Regions from separate parts of the Homo sapiens genome. Here region 1 is linked to region 2. Evidence: promoter capture Hi-C in 16 types of primary human blood cells and fetal thymus (Javierre and others, 2016). All regions are on one chromosome and are shown on one strand. The core of a region is centred on a gene start or on the middle of the fragment in contact, and the rest is flanking DNA. Distances in the headings are between cores, read along the strand shown.

Evidence for each region. Contacts are between HindIII fragments. The CHiCAGO score rates a contact against its expected background, and 5 or more counts as called.
Region 1: a contact is called between a fragment that was not itself captured here and the fragment with the promoter of CMC1 in region 2, in 15 of 17 cell types (activated CD4 T cells, naive CD8 T cells, total CD8 T cells and 12 more). The highest score is 17.0, in activated CD4 T cells.

The regions. Positions count from the first base shown.
Region 1 is chr3:27,703,299-27,711,216 of GRCh38, forward strand. It overlaps the pseudogene KIAA1143P2. Among named protein-coding and RNA genes, the nearest start is that of LINC02084, 5.7 kb to the right of the region's middle. The HindIII fragment of the contact is 249 bases long and covers 4,573-4,821 here.
Region 2 is chr3:28,237,112-28,244,290 of GRCh38, forward strand. CMC1 (C-X9-C motif containing 1) reads left to right here and starts at 4,508. Exons shown (of 4, transcript NM_182523.2): 1 at 4,508-4,701. The coding sequence starts at 4,683. RefSeq lists a silencer at 4,721-4,800. The HindIII fragment of the contact is 9,835 bases long and covers 1-6,653 here.

The DNA of each region.
Region 1 (7,918 bases), core at 3,447-5,946, 530 kb before region 2:
GTTTTTGATACATGATTCTTCCCTCAGCTGGAGCTGGTTCTTTATCTGCTTTGGCAGCCTTTACTTCTGCTTTAATTTTCATGACTTCTTCAACTGACAGGTCTCCCTTTTTAAAAAACATCACTTGAGGCTCTTCATCTTTGTCACTGTGATCCCCATTTTCGTCTGGGAGATGAGGCTGGATTCTCTTGGTCTCTACGGTGGGCTCCTCCCTATAGCCAACCCACTCCTTGAAGCGAGCCAGGAATGCTGGCTCGGCTGGCCGCACGTCTTGTCCAATACTTTTTCTGCGTCTATGTAGACAATAATAGTTATTCACTTTTAGTCTATTAACATGGTGAATTACAATGATTAATTTTTGAATGTTACATCAAATAATTATCTCTATTGTTTGTTGCTGGTAACTTAAGATTATTATGACCTTTTGATAAATTTATCCCATTATCATTATTAAATGACCAGTTTTATTTTTTAAAATCTACTTTGATAGTAACATAGCCACTCTAGCTTTCTTTTAGTTAGTGTTAGCATGTTATATCTTTTTTGCCTTTTAAATTTTAAACCGTGTGTGTCCGTTTATTTATTTATTTTGAGACAGAGTCTCATTTTGTCTCCCAGGCTGAAGTGCAGCGGTGCGATCTCGGCTCACTGCAACCTCCGCCTTTCAGGTTCAAGGGATTCTTGTGTCTCAGCCTTCTGAGTAGCTGGGACTATAGGTGTGTGCCACCACACCTGGCTAATTTCTGTGTTTTTTTAGTAGAGACGGGGTTTCATCATCTTGGCCAGGCTAGTGTTGAACTCCTGGCCTCAAGAGATCTGCCTGCCTTGGCCCCCCAGAGTGCTGGAATTATAGGCGTGAGCCACTATGCCAGGTCTATGTCTTTATTTTTAAAGTGGATTTCTCAGGTGGGAGGATTGCTTGAGGTCAGGATTTCAAGACCAGCCTGGGCAACATAGTGAGACCCTGTCTCTACAAAAAAATAAAAAAAATTGTCTGGGCGCAGTGGCTCCTGCCCGTAATCCCAGCACTTTGGGAGGCTGAGGCAGGTGGATCACCTGAGGTCAAGAGTTCGAACCAGCCTGGCCAACATGGTGAAACCCCATCTCTACTAAAAATACAAAAATTAGCCGGGTGTAGTGGCAGGTGCCTGTAATTCCAGCTACTCGAGAGGTTGAGACAGGAGAATTGCTTGAACCTGGGAGAAGGAGGTTGCAGTGAGCCGAGGTCACGCCATTGCACTTCAGCCTAGGCGACAAGAGCAAAACTCTGTCTCAAAAAAAAAAAAAAGTAGCTGGGCAGGTGATACTTTGTTGGTTTATTAGCTATAATTCTTTGTTGTGTTATTTTAGTGGTTGCTTTAGGGTTTGTAGTAAACATCTTTCTCCCATGCTGGATGCTTCCTGACCTCGAACATCTGACTCCAAGTTCTTCAGCTTTTGGACTCCTGGACTTACACCAGTAGTTTGCCAGCGGCTCTCGGGCCTTCGGCCACAGACTGAAGGCTGCACTGTTGGCTTCTCTGCTTTTGAGGTTTTGGGACTCGGACTGGCTTCATTGCTCCTCAGCTTGCAGATGGCCTATTGTGGGACTTCACCTTGTGATCATGTGAGTCAATACTCCTTAATAAACTCCCTTTCATACACACATCTCTCCTATTAGTTCTGTTTCTAGAGAACCCTGACTAGTACAGTTGGGTTTAAATCTACCACAGTATTATTTGTTTTCTGTTTCTTATTCATTTCCTTTTCCTTCTTTTTGTGCCTACTTTAGATTAATTGAATATGTTTTATGATTCTTTAACTTATCACAGTTTGCCTTCAAGTGATATTATATTATACCACTTGATGCATAGGGTAATAACTCAGTTAATATGCTTCTGTTTCTCCCCTCCCAGCATTTGTGCTATAGTTATCACATATTTTACTTCCATGTATGTTATAAACACCACACAATTGGATGAGGGCCGCTAGAAAAAAACAAACAAACAAAAAGTAACAAAATCTTTTTTAAAAGAAAAAAACCTAGAATATCTTATTATTTTTGCTTTAAACAGTCCATTTTCTTTTAAAGAGATTTTAAAAATAAGAAAACAAGTATTTTATATTTATATTTTATATTTACCCACGTAGCTAACATTTGTAGTGCCCTACATTTTTTTAAGTAGATTCAAATTTCCATCTGGTATCATTTTCCTTCTGCCTGAAGCATTTCTCTTACCTTTTTTTTTTTTTTTTTTTTTTTTTGTAGCTTAGGTCTCCTGATGATGAATTCTTTTAGCTTTTGTATGTCTGAGAAAGTAATTTTACCTTTGTTTTTAAAATATGCTTTCCTTAGGTATAAAAATCTAGGTTGATGGTTTTACTTATTCTTTCAGTACTTCAAAGATGTTCTAATGTTATCCAGCTTACTTATTTTTTGTTATCATTTTTATTAGGTTGGTGCAAACACAATTTAGGTTTTTTCATTAAAGGTAATTGCAAAAACCGAAATTACGTTTGCACTAACCTAACCTAATATGTTTGTTCCTTTGCCCAGAATGTGTCCTTGTCCCCCTGACTGTTTTGATGTCTTCTTCTCTATCACTGGTTTTAAATAATTTGATTAAGATAAGCCTTGGTGTAGTTTTCTTTGCATTTTTTTGTGATTGGTTTAATTGAACTCTTTAGATTGGTGGATTATAATTTTTACCACATTTGAAATATTTTGACCTTTATTTTTTCAAATATCTTGTCTGTACCCTTCTCTCTTTCCTCTCTTTGATGCACTCCAATTACAGGCATGTTAGGCTGCTTGAAATTATCCCACAGCTCACTAAAGCTCTGTTTATTTTTCTCCAGCTTTTTATTTTTGTGTGTTTTATTTTATATCCTTTCAATCTCTATACCTCCAGGTTCACTAATCTTTTCTTCTGCAATGTATAATATGCCACTGATCTCACCAAGTGTTTTTCAATTTCAGACATTTGTAGTTTTTATCTCTAGAAGTTCAATTTGGTTCTTTTAAAAATATCATCCATGTCTCTACTTACCATTCTCAACCTTTTTTCTAGCTTTTTGAGCATATGAAATACAGTTATAGTAACTATTTAATATCCTTGTCTACTAATTTTATCATCTGTCACTTTGAGTTGGTTTTGATTGATTTTTTTAATCTTATTGTGGGTCATATTTTCCTGCTTTTTTGAATGTCTGGCCATTTTTGATTGGGTCCTGTGCATTTAAAATATTTTTTGTTCTGTGCTGGTTGTTAGTTTTATTACTATACATATAACTTGAGCTTTCTTCATGGATATAGTTAAGTTTCACTTCTTGTTTATAAGCCTACTTAGATTAAACCAGAGCAGCATTTAGTCCAGTACTACTTTAGCTCACTACTGAAGCAAGACCCTTCTGAGTTCTTTTCCTGATACCTCATGAATTATGAAGTTTTCCACTTTCGTGAGTGGGAAAGGGGACAATCCTCAGTCAGGGTAAATACTGGGTATTAATACCTCTCATCCAGTAGTTCTCAGCTGGGATAATTTTGCCCCATAGAGGTCATTTGACAATGTGTAGAGACACTTTTTGTTGTTACAACTGGTGGGGTAGTGCTACTGGCATCTAGTTGGTAGAAGTCAGGATATTGCTAAATATCCTATAATGCAGCTCCCACAATATAGAATTTTTTGCCTCCAAATGTCAATAGAGCTGAGGTTGAGAAATCCTGCCTAATCCTGTGGGCTTGGGGTATTTTCTTCACATGCGTGTGCTGATCAACACTCAGGTGGAGTTGAGGAAGACCCTATTCACTTCTCTAGATTTTTCTTTCTGGGCAGGTCTCTCCTCTCTGGAACTCTGCTCCAAAAACTCTAGCCATCTTGGCCTCCTCATCCTTACAGTTTTGTCTCCTCAAATCAAGAAGACTGCTGGGCTTTGTCTGGGTCCCTATCCCCATGCTAAACTGAGGCCTGGAAACTCTCCAGGCAGTAAGTTGGAGAAATATTAGGGTTTTCCTCATTCATTTCTCTTCTTTAATAGATTACTATTTTACATTGCCTAATGGAAGCCATATATATATATATATATATATATATATATATATATATCTGGTTATATATATCAGATATATATATATCTGATTTTTAGTTTAGTTTTTTTTTCAAGCAGAAAGTTAATTCATATCCCTGTTACTCCATCTTGTATTAGAGCAGAAATCTGCTTTTGACATTTTTTTCTTTTTTTTGAGACAGAGGAGTCTTGCTCTGTTGTCCAGGTTGGAGTACAGTGGCACGATTTCGGCTCACTGCAACCTCCATCTCCCAGGTTCAAACGATTTTCCTGCCTCAGCCTCCCAAGTAGCTGGGATTACAGGTGCCTGCCACTGTGCCTGGGTAATTTTTGTATTTTTAGTAGAGACGGGATTTCACCATATAGCCCAGGCTGGTCTCAAACTCCCAACTTCAGGCTATCTGCCTGCCTTGGCCTCCCAAAGTGCTGGGATGATTACAGGTGTGAACCACCGCGCCCGGCCATGCTTTTGACATTTTTGAAATTCAATTAAAATCATAGCATTGCTCTAGATCAGTGGTCAAAAGCTTTCCGTAGTGAAATCTTCCTCACAGGAGTATTTTGGTTATTTAATTTTTTCAAGTAGGGTGCCAAAACTGAAAAGTAGGGGGATTTTCACATAAAAACCCAAATTTTTCAGCTATTCTTGAAACATCCTCTTTGGGGAATCTCAAAACAACTCGAGAGTACTTAAGAGTACTCTCAAGAGTATCCTTTAGCAGTCAAGACATTGGAGGGTGATAGGTGGGCTGGATTTCTTCTTCATTGCCCCCAAGCTTCACCCTTCATTCTTTTCTGTCCTGCCTTGTGCCATCCTGCCTCCTCTATAGAGGAGGCTGACCTCTATGACTGCATCAAGAGATTGTTTAGCCCTTTGGATTCTCACTGGGTTCAGCCAAACAGGGGCACTGAGGGGATTTGAGGGTGGAAGGAGAGAGTCTGGCCTCCTTCTTGCTGGTTTACTAAAGGTTGGTCAAGTTCTTCCTAAAGCTGCAGCCTTTGTCAAATGGTCTTATCCACACTACTCTCTCTTTGGATCTGGCAACCTCGCCTATGTACAAGAAAGCTGGCAAACACAGAGAAACCAAATACCTCGTGGACCTTATTGCCAGGTTAAGAATGTGACTCATACATTTTTTTTTCCCGAAACTCCGATGGGAAATAGGGCATTGCAAGGCTTGGAAATGTTTGATTGTCCTTTTCCAGTGAGTTTGTTTTTGTTGAGAGGGAAAAAGGAATGGGAGAGAGTTATTTTGAGGCATGTATCTCCAGATTAAGATTTAGTTGTATTTCTAGAGACTCTCTTCTATTTAAATTCTGTTTTTCAGTTATGTGTTTCATCAATATCATTATGATCACCTTCCATAGTCTAGTCAATTCACAGAATCTGTTTTGACAGCTCTGAACAGAAAAGTCCCTAATGGAAATATTAGATACCATCTTAACCATTTTCTCCAAGTTGTATTCTACACTCTGTAATCTCAGCTTAATGTTATTAGCTCTGGGGCACAAATACACACTCCTACATACAAGCATGTATACACATTTTTGCACACTAACTTAACTCATGCTTCTCTGTGCTCTTCTATAACAGCTATGTAGTCTGTGTCTGTGGTCTTCTAAATATTTAGTGATGAGCACAGACTATTGGTTAATTATATCAACAACAAGCCTTTTTACCAGAGGAACTTGAATCCTGAAAGAAGTAAAATACCAAAGATCATTCTTGGGTTTTAGATCTGTAAGATAAAGACAAAATTTGCCTGCCAAGATTAAGAAAACCAGCAAATATGTAGGGTGAAGAACATATATTCTGTGGATTCACTACCCCAAAGCTATATAGGCCAAAGTGTGCAATGAAGAAGGCACCACTCCATGATAGGCTTAAAAAAAGGCTGAGTGTGGTGGCTCATGCCTATAATCTCAGTGCTTTGGGAGGCTGAAGTGGGAGGATTTTGAGCCCTGAATTGCAAGATCAGCCTGGACAACATAGTGAGAATCCATCTCTACAAAAAAACTTTTTTTAATTAGCCAGGCATAGTGGTGTGCACCTGTAGTTCTAGCTACTCAAGAGGCTGTGGTAGAAGGATTGTTTGAACCTAGGATTTTGAGGCTGCAGTGAGCTATGATTGTGCCTGGGTGATAAAGTGAAACCCTGTCTCAAAAAAAAAAAAAAAAAAAAAAAAAAAGAAGAAGAAAAGAAGAGGAAGAAGAAAAAGAAGAAAAATTAATCATGGATACATTTGGATTTCAAATATTGTTCATCCTCTGAAAAACATAAACAATAATAAAAACTATGCTTTTGAATTTAACGTTTTCATGACTAAACATATTTCCCAAGCCTCTGAAATATTGTATGTCCAAAGTATAGGGTCTAACCCATGATACACTGCCAAACCAATGAGTTCCTCAAGGGGCTTGGCAAACCACAAAACCATAGTGATACTTGGTTCTTGCCTCTGTATAGTGGGGTTTATAGAACTAGAGCAGTCTCTAAGGTGCCTCCCAGCTCTCCAATTCGGTGACTCAAGGAATGATGACTGATTTAGGGATTTAGGAAGAAGTGCTAGTTAACAGAAGGCTATATACTTATGGCATTAATATTGAGTCATTTCAAGAAGAAATGGTGGCAATCTAAGACCTTTGCAGGAAACATTCTGATTGCCTGAAGTTTTGCGGAATAGTCTACAATTTGGTGTCTGGGACGAGGAAGGGAACAAGATGGTGGCAATGGTATCTACATGTTCAAATCTACCCTTGTTATTCTTTGAATTTCCATGATGGTCTCTCTCAGTAACCAACTCCATTCCAGTTCTAGAAGTTCTAGGCTGTGAATTGTGGATAGTAACTTGGACTTTCCCCCGACCTTTCTCTCCCTCAGATTCCTCCCTCAATCATTTCCAAATAAAGTGGTAAAAAACCACTTCTCTTGTGGTAGATGAAATCACTCCCCTCCCTGCTTAACAACCAAATTATTTAATAGTCCTTTTTTTAGCACTTATGATTTCCATATGATGCTCCTCCTTATGAGTTATTGAAATATATTTTTAAAGGCATCAGGAAATTGACAATTTGCCCTGAGAGTAGAAAAACAGATGGAAACCTACTTTATCACTTTGATATGCACTGGTTTAATGTGATTTCTTAGCAATTTGGGGCATATTAGACTGTCTTAATAAATATGTTTCATCCACTAAGTCTTACCAATTTATGCATTTTGTCCATTTTACACCTAGGTTTCTGTGTCTCATGTTCCCCAGAAGGCCTCTCTGTTTTCCTGTGATGATATATAAAGAGCAGAGATCTTGGCTTTTTGGCTTACTCTGTTTAATGTCACATTCAAAGTGTCATTGAGTAAAATTTTCTCATGTATATGTAATTGATAATAATAGCTGTACTGGAATTTACCTCCTTTGCCAACCCCTTAATGAAATAGTGGGTCTAACTGACAGTCATCAATGTACAAAGACCTGCCCCCAAAAGAGACAACTGGACATCATGAGCCTCCTCATGGAATATTACCACCTATAAAATATTATTACTAAAAAAAAGTGGAATCTAGATCAGATCAATAAAACACCACTTTGTTGGAAAAACAAGAATCAGAGGACTATGTTAACACTACTGAACTGCAATCAGCAAAACCAGAACCTGGAAAACTAGACAGAACAAATGCCCCAATTTCTTCAATAAATTGCAAGGAAAAATAAAAGAGAAAAGTTGAGAGGGGAGAGTTCTAGACTGAGAGAATTAAGTGATACATCAATCACATGTGTGGGACCTGTTTGGATCCTGATTAAAACAAACAACTGTAAGGAACAAGCAAACAAAAAGAATAACAAGAACAACTTTATGAGACAACCAGAAAAAC
Region 2 (7,179 bases), core at 3,258-5,757:
TAAGTGATATCTCATTGTGGTTTTAATTTGAATTTCCCTGATGATTAATGATGTTGAACATTTTTTCACATACTTATCATTTATATGTCTCCTTTTGAGAAATGCCTATTAATGTCCTTTGCCCATTTTTATATTGGGTTATTTGTTTTCTTGCTATGGAGTTGTTTGAATTCCTTATATATTTTGGATATTAGCTCCTTATCATTTGTATGATTTGCAAATATATTCTCCCATTCCATAGGTTGTCTCTTACTGGGAATTTTATATAAGAAATTTTATAATCATATTTGCTGTTGTGGGTGACATGGAATAGAGAGAATAAGTGGGAGGAAGAAATGCCTAGGAACAGAGAGCCAGTTCAGAACTATTACAATAATATCAGCACAAATGGGCAGACCTTGGACTAGGAGTTATGACTCTGATTGGCAGATGAAATAAAGATATATTAAGGAAGGAGAACTGACTACATGTTTTGATCAATCAGATGTAGAGAAGGGACAGTCAGGAGCTGATTGAAGTGGATAGGTGAACTGAGTCAGATTAAAACAGGCCCTATTCAACAGCCAGGAAAACAGGGACAAAGTATTTTATTCTGGTGACAGGCTAACACTAGACAGGTTCTCAGGGCTCTAGTGAAGTGATTTGGGATTCAGGGAATAATTGTAGTCCTTTAAAAATATTTCAATGCTTTTATCAGTTGAACTGTGTCTCCCAAAATTCTTGTGTTGAAGTCCTAGCCCCCAGCACCTCAGAATGTGACTGCATTTGGAGATACGGTTTTAAAAGAGGTAGTTTAGACAAAATGAGGCCATTAGGATATTCATTAGAGTTGGTCCCAATCCAATATGGCTGATGTCCTTACAAGAAGACATTAGGAGACACAGCCACACAGAGGGAAGACCATGTGAAGACACAGGAGAAGATGCCATGTACAAATCAAGAAGAGAGGCCTCAGGAGAAAGCAACTCTGCCGACATTTTTGATCTCAGACTTCTAACCTGCAATTGTGAGAAAATATTTCTGTTGTTTAAGCTACCCAGACTGTGGCACTTCATTATGACCACCCTAGCAAATAATAGAAATGTCAACATGGACCTAAGTCCTTTTAAACCAGAGAAGGCACAAGCCATGCAAACTGGGTGCTAAATAATACAGCTCAGAAAGTAGGCAGGGCCACCAGGGACCCTTGATTAGTGATCTTCTGGCCGAGAACTACTTCTAAATCCTATCCTCTGGTAGAGATGAGGCGTCTAATATTCTTTCAAGTTTGATTCTTACTGACTCAAATTTGAAATCTCATTGATTTCAAGTTTTATTCTCATCTGTAGCAGAGCCAAGCTGCAGATGAAAAGTCTTTACTTCTGATGCTAAGAAGAGGCAGAAGCAAGGAGGGGCTGACTGATAATCTCAATTTCAAAAAACAACTAGCTGCATATCAACATATAGCATAAAGGAATGTTAGATCCAATTCAGAATTGACTCAAAAATAATCAAGATACTTGTTTCTACTTGCACATTCCTTTGCCTTCACATACAAAGAGAAATTCACTGTGGTTCAACTACTGTTATTACCCTGCATTACTGCAAATTTCTCTGAACTGATCTTTCTGTTTCATTATCGCCACTGTTAGCCCCCAATAATGAGGATCAAGGCAGATCATTTCAGGCATGAATAGGCACATTGCCATGATTTTCTCATTTGTCTGTATACATTTGCCAAAAAAAGGAATTATCCAGAAATCTTGACTCTTTGTCTTAGTCTTCTAAATCCAATTTCAAAGGATAGATTCTTCCTTTGCAATTACTCTCACATCCATCCTTTTATATATCCCAGTTGAGGCTCTTTTCATATCTTGCCCAAACCAGTACAATAGCCTCCTTACTTTTCTGCTTGCCTTTTAGCTCTTTCCTCGCTGCCTACATTCATCCTGCGCAAAACTTTTATAAAACACCTTTAGAAAATTTTGACCACAATGCTCTTTTCCTATATATTAACCTTCAACAGATTCTGGTTGCTTATAGTAACACATTCAAACACACCTCTGTCTAGTGTTTAAGGCTGTGGGAATCTGGACTTTTCTAGCCAATGCATAACTGCCCTAGCTTCCCAAATCCTAAAATGCATTGAAGTAGTTTCAAGCATTGCCCACCACATGCCTGCCACACAGCCCCGTGGTGCTTCCTGCCACACAGCTGGGTGCTTCCCACCCCTGTGCTTTTGTTCATGTGATTCCATTCCTTAGCCTGTACTCTGCCATGCTCCACCATGCTCTTTCAAGAACAGTTCAAATCCCAGATGCTTTTGCTCTCATTTTTCTCCCAGCATGAGATGCCCTTTTTTCTGTCTACTCATTGTACCCATCGTTCAAGGCCGAGCATAACTTCTAACTTATCTCTGAAGTCTTTCCTAACCATTGCGGCATTCAATCCTTTGAGAAAGGCTTTTGTGGGGTCACCAGTTACCAGACGTTGCCTGAGCTCTAGGGATCACAGCTGGGTAAGACACTGTTCCTAATTTCCAGGATGATGTCCTCTCCTCTTTCCTTGAGCTCCTTTTGCAGTTACTACCCAAAGAATTGCCTATTAATAATGCGATGCCTCAGGAAATTTCTTCTGTTTTTAATTGCCAATTACATTCGCTTAACTTAAAAAATGACTTATCTTCCCTAGGTATAGATTGTAAAGACTCAGTTTCCCCCCAAAGTATCTGGTTTAACATGGGAGTAGAGAGAGATATACTATTATGTATCAGGTATTGGGCTACCGTTTTTGCTAGTGCTTCTCCTGGTGTGATACGTCTAGCAGTTCATTCTATGGGGCACACAAAACCCATGATATTACAGATACTGTTGCTTAGGATAAGGCTAAAGTAAATAGTGCCTATTTAAGTGTTTTTAAAAATGTGTTGATTTAAAAACAAATGTTAAATAGTAATGTTTCAAGTAATAGCTATGGCAGAAATGGTAGAAGTGGTCCTTTAAAGTCTTTCAAATGCATTGTATGATATCACATTTATTCCTCAGAACAACCTTGTAAATTGGAAACCAAAGTCCAGAAAAATAATAGAACTTACTCAACTCACTAAGATAACAGATCAAACTTTCCTCCTTTACCATAATACCCTTTTGCATATAGAAAGATTTAGTTTAATTCTTGAATATGGGTGTCTGACCTGTGTTTTCATACTCCATCTCCTCAAAAAGATTGCTTTAGCTTTCTAAATCAAATCCTTCACCTTCAGAACAATAAAAGAGGCATACCAGAGTCATTTTGGTGTATTTCTAAGCATATTTACAAAATATACAAGGAAAAGGACCTGATTCCCTGGCTGGGTGAGTGAAACGTTAATTCTTCACCTTGGCACCTCAACCTACAGCTGTAATAAGGGCCGTTATGCCCAAATAGGCCCTTAAACGGAAGACCTGCTGAGCAGAGACCCACTTTCCCAGCCCTGCTCAACTGCCTCAGCTTTTCTGCCAACTGACCAGGCGGAAGCAGCAGCAGGGGAGGAGGGACTGCAGGTAGGTGGGGAGGGGATCATTTTGAAAGCCCTGAATCCCTTGCAGGGAAGAAGCAGCTGCTCCTTGTTTTTCTAAACATCTGTCCCATCTGTCCCAGGCCTCAGCTCACCCTTTCGTGGCTCGAGCCAGTTAAACGTGAATTTGACAAGGAAGCACTTCTGAAGGCTGGTTTGTGAGTGGAAATGAACCTAAGTGCCACCTAGAAAGTTTCTTCTATTGAGAAGAGGTGAGTAGTGGGTCTTCAGCGGGACGGCTATTACCTTCCTTCATTTTACTCTCACAAAACATACAGCTTTTACTGATAGAGGCAGGATTTGTAACATCACCCAAATCATACTGTACGTCCTGAGGATATTATTTCACAACATAGAGGTACTTCTAGAGCCCATATTTTAACGTCTAGGAGAGCCACAGTCTTTGATTTGAAGGAGAAATAACGATATTGCACACACCATATCACCTTTATGGTAGAACAAGCTGTGAACAACTAGTGCGTGTGGCGTTTATCACATTTAACAGCGTGTTGCTTTTATTTGTCTCCTCTGCCACACTGCTCCTTGAGAACAGGGACGTTATTTTTATTGTTATTTTCCCCTCGTATTCAGAACCGTGGCTGGAACTTGGCAGGCATGAAATAGACATTTATGAATGAATGAACGTTAACGAAGAAAAAAAAAGGAACTGGATGATTCATTTGGTTCTCCGAAGGCGGGTATGGGGGACGGGGCTCGGACTTTGGCCCAGTCACCGAGTGAGGCACAGTCCCAAAGTCCTGCAGGTCCGCCTCCAGTCACGGCCGACCCGGGTCTGCAACTGGTGCACAAGCCTCCTGAAGCGAGGCTGCGCGCGTCCTGCACGGTCCCGCCCCAAAGGCACGCAGACACGCCCCCTTTCCTGGTCATTCCCCCTGCGAAGTCAGTTCCACTCTAGTTACAGGATTGGGGCGGGGCCAGAAAGGCGCAGGCGCAACGGGCGGCGGAAGTAGGAGCCTGGGAAGGAAGAGGGAACGGGTCCTGGCGGTGCTTTGCAAAGGGCCCGTGTTTCTGTTGCGGGAAGCTCCCGGGGGTCGCACGTGCGTCCGAGCCCAAGCCCCTCCCCTCCACTCCCCTTCCTGCGTGCCCCGGAGCCGCCAAGCGGCTACGTTCTTCTCGGCCCGCCGAGATGGCGCTCGACCCCGCAGGTACCGGGGCGGGAAGCGGGGTTTGCCGAGGGGCCTCGCCCCGGGTCTCACGCCGCGGGCCATGCGGGCTGGATGCCGACCTGGGAAAGGTGCAGAGCTCTGGGTAGCATTGCTTCCACCAGCGTCTCCTCATACCCGGCGGCTGCTTCGCCCGGTCTGAGGTCATCTTCTCACTTGTTGGGGATTATGGTTATCTGAGGTTGCGTTTGTTGTCTAAAGTATCATCCATTGTGGTTTCCAACTTAACGCGACTAGTCTCTTCATTGTCACCCTCTTTTCGCCCCTTAAGGTCACAGATGCATTTAATGTATGCTGCAGACACTCTGGCCCCAGAAAAATTTGTATATTTGTTCTGGCGCACAGTTTTACATTTCTGTTTGGGAGTTCATGGACCCCGAGTTCATCCTTGTAACCCAACTTAAAAACATATTTCAAAGGATCCATCACTATGGCAGGAGTCAGTTTCTTTGGAAAGGATCTTCAAAATCTTGAATGTTGTTTTAATCTCTTTGCTTCCAGCCACTTCCGTTTGCAGCAATAGTTAACTTACCCTCGAATTCCCGTCCTTGTGGAAGGTCACCTGCAGTATCTTTGCGTTAGGCTATTTTTGCAAGGGAATAGATAACATTTTTGGAGGGAATGGTAGTTGGTCTAGTCCATTTCTTTCATTTTATGGATACAAAAAGTCAAAACATTGAGAGGTAAATGGCGTCAAACTTGGGAGATTCAGAAATGGAAAATGCTCTTTCGGAGCCTTCAAGGAGCATGGAAAATATATGTAGCACAGAAATAATGTTTTAATTGAACATGTTATTACCATGCTAAGTGTTCTCTATTATCCAACAATAATATGTGGTATGGTAGGTCCTTTTAGCTCCATTTTACAGATTAGGAAACTGAGGCGAAGAGAAGTTAAGTGACTAGTCCAGCAGGTAGTGGTAGATCAGGGAGTACTCTAATTTGAAGCATAGAGGAGTTCTGGAACATAATGATCATATTCATTTTGGACTAGGTGGTTATGAAGCAGTTAGCAGTTGATCTGGGCTTTGAGGGATGGAATTTCCAGTGGTTGGAGCTGGAGAAGAGGCAGCCCTATGAGCAAAGGTTTAGATAGTAAGGTGCACTGTGCGATGCTTGGTTTCAGGATGACTACCATGATTTGGTTCTTGAGGGTAGAAGGGGTAGAGTATAAGTGAGGGGTGAGTAAGGAAGGTTCAAGTTTAGGCCCATATAATTTATGGTATCTTTTTTTTTTATTTTACTGAAACGGAGTCTCACTGTCGCCCAGGCTGGAGTGCAGTGGCGCTATCTCGGCTCACTGTAGCCTCCGCCTACTGGGTTCAAGCAATTCTCCCACCGCAGCCTCCTGAGTAGCTGGGATTACGGGCGCCCGCCACCACGGCCGGCTAATTTTTGTATTTTTAGTAGAGATGAGGTTTCGCCGTGTTCGCCATGCTGGTCTGGAACTCCTGACCTCAAGTGATCTGCCTGACTTGGCCTCCCAAAGTGCTGGGATTACAGGTGTGAGCCACCGCACCCAGCCTAATTATGGTACTTCTGAACTTGAAGTGACCTTTAAAGTAATCTCATACGGATGAGGAGACTGAGAATGAGAGAGGTTAAAGATTTCCATATATCTACACTTTTTGAATTTAGACAAGGAAATTTGGGAAAAAAGTCTTCATACTTGCTCTCTTCACTTGCTTACCTTCCAGTTACTCATAAGCCACTCCAATCTTGTGTTGTACCCAAGGCCACACAGCTAGTTGCTGGTAGAGTCAAGTCTGGTTAGAACCTAGGTAATTTCATTTCCAGTCCAGTGCTGTAGACCATGCCACCTTTTGAGTATTGATTAAACAAAGACTTGTTGAGTGTCTGGTATATGTCCCATATTGTTCTGGACCCTAGGGAACAGTAGTACATAGGACAAACAAAATTCCTGCTCCCAATAAAGCTTATCTAGTGGTAGAAAAAACAATTAACACCCCCTTTTCCCCCTACACAGACACGTGCGTGGGCACACACACATACACACACACATTTTTACAGATTGTGATAAACATGAAGAAAATAATGTCATGTGGTAGATGGTGAAGAGATTAGTCAGTGAAGAGCTTTATGAGGAAGTGTCATTTGAATTGGAATCTGAGGGATGAGAGGAAGCTAGGCAGAGTGTGCTTGGCCATCAGGTAGCAAATACTTAAAATATTTAACTTGAACGTGGGTCAGAGTGTGGAGGGGATCCATAAGGAAAGATATTGGGAAAGTAGGTAGTCACTAAATGCCTAGATATTGCAGAGGCTGCAAGTCCTCAAAGGCTGGCTGTGATAATAAAGCATTTGGATTTTTTCTAATGGCATCAAATGCCTTTAGAATCTTTTAAAGAGGGCAGTAACATAATTTATGTGTTTATTATCCTCGCTACAGTGGTAGCATGCATTGTAGAGGGGTCAGGTCATAAGTGGAAGAAGGGAGACA